Regions from separate parts of the Homo sapiens genome. Here regions 1 and 3 are each linked to region 2. The links are contacts of gene promoters, found by promoter capture Hi-C in human tissues and cell types (Jung and others, 2019). All regions are on one chromosome and are shown on one strand. The core of a region is centred on a gene start or on the middle of the fragment in contact, and the rest is flanking DNA. Distances in the headings are between cores, read along the strand shown.

Region 1 (3,026 bases), core at 107-2,606, 640 kb before region 2:
TTTTATTTGTAAAGGAAAACTGGATTTTTCTGCCCAGGATTAGAGCAGGAGAAATGTAATGGGCCAGCAAGGCTGCTCTCAGGAGAGGCCTTCCTCCCCTGTGGAGGGCGAGACATCCTCATGGGGACTCAATTCAGAACATAACAGGAAAAAGCGAGTGACTCCAAAGACAGCCACAGGTGTGGAGTCTGGAAATCAAAATCACAGATACTCCACTCCTCTTTGTGTCTTCCAGCCCCATAATGTCACCCCATTATAGTCCAAGACCCTTCCTGTACCAGGAGGCCCCCCCATAGGCCTGCAAGGTGTGTATTAAACTGATGGTGACGTTGTGACTGCTTGTCCAGATGGGCCCCTGAGTGAAATGGGGCACTACTGATAGTTCCCTGGTGGTCCTGGGAACACTGGGGTATATGGTCACCCTAACTGTTGTGCTGGATTGATAGATAGGGTTGGTCACTTGCCCGAGGCCGATGGCTGGTACATGGCAGAGCTGAGATATTCACTGTGTTCTGGCTGTTTCCACCGTACCATGTTGTTCCCAGCCCTCTGTTTTCTTTCCACCCCACTTCCCATGACTTGCTTCCCCTTTGAGACGTGGTGCTAGTAAATCTTAGATTCCCTTGGCCTGTACTGCCTGCCTCTGTTACAAATGCCTTAGAGTTTGGAGAAGAGATGGAAAGATCTATACAATGTAAAGCCAGAGAATTTTAACTTTTTTTTTTTTTTTTTTGGAGACGGAGTCTTGCTCTGTTGCCTAGGCTGGAGTGCAGTGGCACTATCTCGGCTCGCTGTATCCTCTGCCTCCTGGGTTCAAGCAATTCTCTACCTCAGCCTCCCAAGTAGCTGGGATTACAGGCGCCCGCCACCACGCCTGGCTAATTTCTTTGTATTTTTAGTAGAGACGGGGTTTCACCATCTTGGCCAGGCTGGTCTTGAATTCCTGACCTTGTGATCCACCCACCTCGGCCTCCCAGAGTGCTGGGATTACAGGTGTGAACCACCGCACCTGGCCTGAGAATTTTAACTTTTTATTGCTCTAAAGTTGCCATTAGTTTGACCAACTAACCAATGAATGAGCTGTAGTGGGTTGCTGGAGAGGTGATGCTTAGTGTCCGAGTGTTTTGCGCTGGGCCTCGGTGGTCCTGGTGGCGGATGTTGGTATGCCCCTGCTCCCCTGCCCTGACTGCACCCGTTTTCTCCCGGCAGTCGTCCCTGGGGATGAGCCCAGGGAGAAGATGGACTTGGTCACCTACTTTGGAAAGAGACCCCCAGGCGTGCTGCATTGCACAACCAAGTTTTGTGACTACGGGAAGGCTCCCGGGGCAGAGGAGTACGCTCAACAAGATGTGAGTCTTCCCCAGGGACACATGGGGGAGGTGGGAGGTTGGGGGAGAAGGGGCTGCAGCATCTTCTGAAGATAGGTACCGGTGCCAGGCAGGGACCAAAAACCAGATGGCAGCTCAAGAAAAATGGCATCTCCTCCTCCTAGCTCCCCTGTCCCCAGGCGTAGCTGCATAGACCTCAGCCGCAGGTTCTAAGGAGCCTGCCCTGGCAGTACTGCCAGCCTGTGCATTCACCTGCCCCCAAGCACCTTCGCCTTCTGCAGATTCATGGAGAATGCTGGTCCACAGTGGGCTCCTGCTCTGGTCTCTCTGAGCCTGTTTTACCTTCCAAAGACTAGGAGTCCTTCGCCCCCAGGGAGCCTGGTGCACTGAGGTCCCCATCCCTGTCCCCAGGTCTGAGGTCTGGCCTGGCCCCAGAGTGAGGGAGTTTCATACGATAATGAAGCTTATTGGCTAATGGGTACGAGACCTTTCTGCACCACACAGCTGGCACCTTACACCCACAGCCACTGACAGTGATCCCTGAATGCCAGGCATGTCACCCATATCCACAGTCTCCAACTTCCAAGTGTCCACCCCCAAGCCCACTCTCCCACTTCTCTGCCTAGGTTAGCACAATCGTTTGTTTGTTCACTAGAGTGTCCTCCCAAATGGAAGCTCCCCTGAGGGCGAGTTTTTAAGTTTCGTTGACTCCTGTGGTTCCAGCACCCTAGCATAGTGGAATGAATATGTAACACCTGAGCTACCATCCCTAACCATGCCTTCATTTAGCATTTATTAACTACCCATTTCATGCCAGACACTGTTGGGACAAGGGATCGTGAGCAAAAATAGAAAAGCGTTTATGCTGAGATGGGATGGGCTGTCTCAAAGAATCAGATAGAAGCAGACATATCATCAGATGGGAACCAAAGTGTAAGAGCAGGTTTCCATCAAGGGCGAGTCTGACCTCAGTCTGACCTCACCCTGTCCTCCAGGGCGCTGTCTGGGTCCCAGGGGAAGCTGAGCGGTGCCAACAGTAGCAGCTGTTGTGTGCGCGGACACCCCTGTGGGCTGTTTACCTAGTCACTCTCATAACCACATTAACTCTGAGGTAGGCTCTGGTTCTCCCTGTTTTACGGGTGATGAAGCCAAGGCACCGAGAGGTCAGCCAGCCCGCTGAGGCCGGAAGCCAGTGTGCAGGGAGCTGGGCTCCCTCAGGAAGTCCGGCTGTCCCCGTGTGGCCCTGTCTGAGCGCCTTCGTGTTTCTCACTTGAGCCTGGAGCGCCTATGGAAGGTGCGTGCCGCAGTTGTTAGTGGATGCTGGGCCTATACCGACCCCTGCTCAGCTGTGCTCACTTCTGTTAGACTTCCCCTTCTCTCCTCCAGGAGGGACCCTCCCTGGGTCAGCTGTTCCTCAAGAGCCTGCCATCTCTAGCTTGGGCCCCTCTTTCTCACTCTCCCCAGGTGTTAAAGAAATCTTACTCCAAGGCCTTCACGCTGACCATCTCTGCCCTCTTTGTGACACCCAAGACGACTGGGGCCCGGGTGGAGTTAAGCGAGCAGCAACTGCAGTTGTGGCCGAGTGATGTGGACAAGCTGTCACCCACTGACAACCTGCCGCGGGGGAGCCGCGCCCACATCACCCTCGGCTGTGCAGCTGACGTAGAGGCCGTGCAGACGGGCCTTGACCTCTTAGAG
Region 2 (2,969 bases), core at 76-2,575:
TCCAGCTCAGGAAAACTCACACACAGTATTAGACATCAATTTCCTTGCCTATAAACCATGGCTAAGGATGCCTCTCTAATTCCTTGGAACAGGGAGGAGTTACAATCACAGGTGGCTTTGACACGCGTGTAATCTCCGTCATCATTTCCTAACTGTTCTTTAAAAGCTTGTAATTTTCTTTCAATTTTCAGCTTTGGGGGCTCACACTGACGCTTAGACTTCATAAACTTCCTTCCTAGATATATAACATGCTAATTCATGCGAATCGCTCAAGCTTGTTTTATAATCACACCTATGGATACCTTTGCAAGACTTCACGCCTCTACTCCAACAATAAACTACTAAAACCTCTGGAAACAATCTAGAACTTGCACTTGAGCAGACAAGAGAAAGGAAGTGATGGCTTTAAAGGGACGCAGCTTTGTCGGGCTCAAAAGAGGAGCCCTCGCTCACTCTTGAGCGGCTCAAGATGTTACCAGAAGCTCCCGCCAGATGTGCGGGGCGGGGGTGCGGGCACAGGTAAGGCAGAGAAGATGGGTGGACGGCCCTGGGAAGAACTAGGGTGCCGAAGCCTGCAGGCGGGATGGAGTGGAAGGAGGTGAGGCAAAATTAGGCAAGTACAGGAAGGAGCCAGTGCAGCGAAGAAAACAGGGCAGGCGAGAAGTAGAGCCCTAGAGGAACCAACGAATTCGGGACTCGGAGGGTTTCCGAGGGTCCAGTTCTCTCACCAGAAAGCCGCGTTCAGCCCCAGGCACCACAGAGCGCTCCTAGCTGGCCGCTCCCACACCAGGGCTGCCTGCACCCGACTCAGCAGAGGCTCGTAAGGCCCCAGCACCTCCACCAGGGCCCGCTGCGCCGCCTCAACCTGCTGGTCCCGCTCCCAGGAGCCTGACACATCTCGGCGGCCCCTGAAAGTCGACCCCGAAGCCGGGCCTGGGGTCGTGGGAACCCCTTCGGCCTCAGCCATCTCCCCGCGGCAGCCACAACATCCGGGGCCGTGGCCCGACAAGTCACAATAACAGCAACTGCGCAGATGCGCGATTCGGCGGGGGAGGTGGCTTCGCACCACAGCGCGCTTGCGCGCAGGCCCAAGCAGGCGCCCACCCAGAGGGGAGGGAGGACGCCGTACCCCGCCCTCACTGAGGCGCGGAGCCGGATCCGGAGGCGCCGAGCCGCATCCGGAGCCGCGCACGCGCAATCTGCATGAACGAAGGCCAGTGCTTAAAGACGTGCCATTCATTGCCAGAACTCGATTCTCATTGGAGCGGAGGAAGTTCGTGGGTGGAGCTGGTTGTTTGGCGCCTGCGTCTTGCGGCGAGCGGGCTGGCGTGCGGCGCCGTTGCGGGCGGGAGCGGCTGCAACGCCGGTGCCTGAGGAGCGATGCCGAGGGAAATCATCACCCTACAGTTGGGCCAGTGCGGCAATCAGAGTGAGCGAAACTCCGGCCCCTCAGCTAGCCAGGTTCCTTAGGGTCAATGGGATCTCGCTGTGGGATCCTGGACTCCATCTGTCCTTGCCAGAATCGTAGTTCTCTGAAAGGCGAGACATCCCTGACCCAGTGTCCACTTGCCCAACCCCGAGGGGCCCTCCCCTGCCCAGTCCCTGGCGTACAGTCCTTTCCTCAGACACGGGAGAGTCCTGCGGCTTGACTTCTTATCCCTGGACGCAGGCGCCCAGTCCCCCGGCTCCTGATTGGAACCTGCCCGGACCTAGATATCTTCTTTCTCCCCTGCCCGCCCCTTCCCCCCAGTTGGGTTCGAGTTCTGGAAACAGCTGTGCGCCGAGCATGGTATCAGCCCCGAGGGCATCGTGGAGGAGTTCGCCACCGAGGGCACTGACCGCAAGGACGTCTTTTTCTACCAGGTGCCCCCAGCGACTTGGCCGGGGGCGGCAGTTGCCCAAGGGGGCGGAAGGGAAGGGAGTGGCCTGGTACTGGGAACCCCGCTGGGCAGTAGGGCCAGGCGGCTGGCTTGAGGAGGGAGGGCCGGAGGGAGCCAGAGTTGGGAGGACTTCGGACTTGGGCCGCCCTAGCTGATTGGGCCCCCTCCTGGACTCCCCTTGACAGGCAGACGATGAGCACTACATCCCCCGGGCCGTGCTGCTGGACTTGGAACCCCGGGTGATCCACTCCATCCTCAACTCCCCCTATGCCAAGCTCTACAACCCAGAGAACATCTACCTGTCGGAACATGGAGGAGGAGCTGGCAACAACTGGGCCAGCGGATTCTCCCAGGTCGTTTCCTATTCCCTGGCAGGGCCCACAACTCGCTGGGTAGGGACAGGCTCTATGACGTCCCGAAGAGAGGGAAAACCGGATCAGGGATGTATGAATGCTGGAGGGAGAGACCTGGCTGCAGGGAGTGGACTATGTAATATTGTCAAGCGCCTACACTAGCTAATGCAGTGTGCCAGGTCATTCTAAGTGCTTTACATATATTAATTTTTCTAAATCTCCCAACAACCCTAGAAGTAAGTACTACAGGTCCACAGTCCCTTATCTGCCTTTCCAGGATCCAGAAAGCCATGAAACCAAAGGACATTTCATAACTAGTTTATCAGCAAAAACAAATTTCAATGAAGACAGGCTGTTTTATAGTTTCTTTTTTTTAATTTTTATTTATTTATTTTTTTTGAGACGGAGTCTCACTCTGTCGCCCAGGCTGGAGTGCAGTGGCACGCTCTCAGCTCACTGCAACCTCTGCTGCCCGGGTTCAAGCGATTCTCCTGCCTCAGCCTCCCGAGTAGCTGGGATTACAGGTGCTTGCCATCACGCCTGGCTAATTTTTGTATTTTTAGTAGAGACGGGGTTTTACTGTGTTAGCCAGGGTGGTCTTGATCTCCTGACCTCGTGATCCACCTGCCTCGGCCTCCCAAAGTGCTGGGATTGCAGGCGTGAACCGCCATGCCCGGCCCTATAGTTTCTATCCAACTTACTGTCATTAGTGATGCCTTTTATTACAGAAATACTA
Region 3 (2,700 bases), core at 133-2,632, 560 kb after region 2:
CCGTCCAGAACGTCTCAGCGAGCTCACGACGCGCAGTCACGTTTTTTTCCCCCCCTCTACACTGCAGATGTGGCTCCCAATGTTGACGTTGGCCAGGACCTTTGCAAACAAGCCAGGCCAAAAAGTTTCAATATTTACACTGGCTGCTTTAATAAGGGCATTGATCTTATCCTCCGTAAAGGTCACCTCATAGTCCTGCAGAATGAGGGCAGAGTAGATGCAGGCAAGCTGGGAGACGGAGGCCATAGCGCGGGCGAGTGTGGGGCTGGGGCTGCCGGACGCGGTGCTACTCACCGGATGAAGTGAGGGTCTCACCCCAACGCGGCCTTAGCTTCCTCGGAAGGACCGAACACCTTGGCGGCAGCCGAGGAAAGGGGTTCCACAGTTTTAATTTATCTGTAATTCCCACGCTTTACTGTTGCCACGGAAACCGCTGAGCAATAGCCTCTCAGAATAGGAAATCAAGACACAGTCAGAGGAAGGGCGGGACAGAAAGAGCCTAGCATCTCTCGGGGCTCTGGGTTGGCCACCCAGTCCTCCCCTGGTGACATAAAAAGAAAGAGACGGAAAAGGAAGAATTCTACCTGAGTTCGCCGTAAAGCGCCCGCCCTCTCGCCTCTACGCTTCCAGTTGCGGCTTATTACGTCACAGTAATTGCTGTACCAAGGTCAGAATCGCCACCTGAGGCCTGAATATCAGCGTAAGATAGTGTCCAAAGCAGTCTTAAGAAGAGGTCCCATTACCCCACTCTTTCCGCCCTAATGGAGGTCTCCAGTTTAGGTAAATAAAAGGATTGTTGGGAGGTGGAGGGAAAGAACTACTATTTCCAACATGCATTGCGGAACGAAAGGCCTTGGCCACACTGTTCCTTGGAAACTGTAGTCTTATGGAGAGGAACATCCAATACCAAAGCGGGCACAATTCTCACGGAAATCCAGTGGATAGATTGGAGACCTCCGCGGGCTTATACATGTCAACAGTAATGGATTGGAGTGTTGTTATGTTCTCCTATCTTGAGAGCAGAGACTAGGCCAAAAAAAGATACCTACAACTCCTAGGAAGACTACGATTCCCATCCAGCCCCACGAGTCTCGGGCAAGTAGTCCTCTAAGGTCAGTGGCCTGCGGGGACGCAGTGGGCGCCGAATTTGCCTGGGGAAGGGGAAATCCGCTCTGGCCCACATCTGCGCACTCCTAGTTCCGCCCCTCAGCCTCAATGTTTGTTATTGTTGTTCGGGTTCAGGTTGCTTCTGCCCCGCCCCATCGACGCAATCTCCACCAATCAATGGCGTGGTCGTTTTGAGGGACAAGTGGTGAGAGCCAATCATCTTGGCGAACACTCGGAGAAACAGGGGACTAGTTACTGTCTTTATCCGCCATGTTAGATTCACCCCACAGGGATAGCGGCAGAGCCGGTAGCGGACGGTCCTTGCATTGGCCTCCGGCAGGCGCCCCCCGGGGGCGGGAAGCTGGTAAGGAAGCAGCTGCGGTTACCTAGGGGTGGGGTCACGTCACGCTAAGAGGGTTTGGGGAAGTTCAAGGGAGGAATCCTGCAAAGAAGAGGGGCGACTTTTTCCGTGTTTCGGGACAGCTAATCTTTTTAGTGACAGGATGAGAGAGCCCTTCATGTTCAGAGGGACCGAGTTGGCGAGAAGCGCCGGAGAGTTGGAGAGTCTGTGGGTCAGAACATCCGGCTTCTACTGATGGAAGGCCACGACTCCCCAGTGGAATGAGGGCCTAGGCAAAGAAAATGAGAGAGCCCTCGGGGTAGTGACACTGTCTTGGGAACATGGAGTGCTAGGAAACGAAAACTGGAAGACTAGGATGAACTCTGCAAGTAAAAAAATGACACTACTTACACATCCTTCTCATCCCATCCTCGTTTTTTCGAGACCTTAAAGAGATCTCCTTGGTTAGGGACCTTCGGTTTTGGAAAGGCACTGTTTTTCCTTTTTGTCAAACACTCAGCTTTCAGGCCACACTTTTTTGAGACAGAGTCTTGCTTTCTCAAAGACCAACCCAGGCTGGGCTTGAACTGCTGAGCTCAAGCGATCCTCGTGCCTTGGCCTCCCAAAGTGCTGGGATTACAGGTATAAGCCACCGCTCCCGGCCTCAGGTCACACATTTTAAAGCCTGGATAACTTGGCTTGTAAAGGCCTCTGGTGGAGACAGTAATCAAAGCTCAGGTTGCCAGGTCTGTTTCATTAAAGGGATTTTGTTGAGGCTGAAAAAAAAATCGACGTGGAGGAAAAGCTAACTTGTGCCAAGCAAAGGTGAGTCAGTGGCATGGACTTACAATAATGCCAGTTATGAAAGCTGAAGGCCTAAGACCCAGCTATCTGACTCTACTGGCTGTAGACCTAAGGGGCAGATAGGGTTAACCATAGCTTTGGTGTTTACACACGTTTAAGATTAATGCTCCTGCTGAAAGAATTTTTTTACATGTCAGCCAAAGAGAGTTCCTTATGAAGACCTGGATATGGTCCAGCCAAGCTAGAATCTCCCACTTCCTGTTTTCTCTTAGTTGGCCCACCAGCTGGAGGAGCTCCAGAGTATCTAAATTTCCAATTGTGTAATTTGAGAAAAAGAGAGGAAGATTCATTTCCTTCACAAGTAGGGAAGTGTGTTTCTTGAAGTTGGAAAGTGATATTTCAGAATACCCACTTTTGGCGGACTGAGTCACTTCATTTCCTTGATTTTT

Evidence for each region. The method cuts DNA at HindIII sites, captures the fragments that hold promoters and counts their contacts. A contact is called where the count stands out against the background at its distance.
Region 1: a contact is called between a fragment that was not itself captured here and the fragment with the promoter of TUBG1 in region 2, in 1 of the 25 tissues and cell types used here (spleen).
Region 3: a contact is called between the fragment with the promoter of NBR1 here and the fragment with the promoter of TUBG1 in region 2, in 1 of the 25 tissues and cell types used here (aorta).

What each region holds. Positions count from the first base shown.
Region 1 is chr17:41,970,683-41,973,708 of GRCh38, forward strand. It overlaps CNP (2'',3''-cyclic nucleotide 3'' phosphodiesterase), which reads left to right. Exons shown (of 4, transcript NM_033133.5): 3 at 1,210-1,349; 4 at 2,793-3,026. Among named protein-coding and RNA genes, the nearest start is that of CNP, 5.4 kb to the left of the region's middle. RefSeq lists an enhancer at 2,491-2,610. The HindIII fragment of the contact is 5,813 bases long and covers 1-3,026 here.
Region 2 is chr17:42,608,358-42,611,326 of GRCh38, forward strand. It overlaps TUBG1 (tubulin gamma 1), which reads left to right and starts at 1,326. Exons shown (of 11, transcript NM_001070.5): 1 at 1,326-1,429; 2 at 1,751-1,863; 3 at 2,066-2,233. The coding sequence starts at 1,381. It overlaps RETREG3 (reticulophagy regulator family member 3), which reads right to left and starts at 1,017. Exons shown (of 9, transcript NM_178126.4): 1 at 729-1,017. The coding sequence starts at 967. RefSeq lists an enhancer at 899-1,008. The HindIII fragment of the contact is 7,237 bases long and covers 1-2,969 here.
Region 3 is chr17:43,169,832-43,172,531 of GRCh38, forward strand. It overlaps NBR1 (NBR1 autophagy cargo receptor), which reads left to right and starts at 1,383. Exons shown (of 21, transcript NM_005899.5): 1 at 1,383-1,471. LOC101929767 (a long non-coding RNA gene) reads right to left here and starts at 572. Exons shown (of 2, transcript NR_110868.1): 1 at 295-572. LOC124900391 (a long non-coding RNA gene) reads right to left here and starts at 1,133. Exons shown (of 2, transcript XR_007065760.1): 1 at 585-1,133. It also overlaps a transcript of BRCA1 not described here and the pseudogene BRCA1P1. RefSeq lists enhancers at 204-413, 684-733, 984-1,093, 1,414-1,523. The HindIII fragment of the contact is 14,047 bases long and covers 1-2,700 here.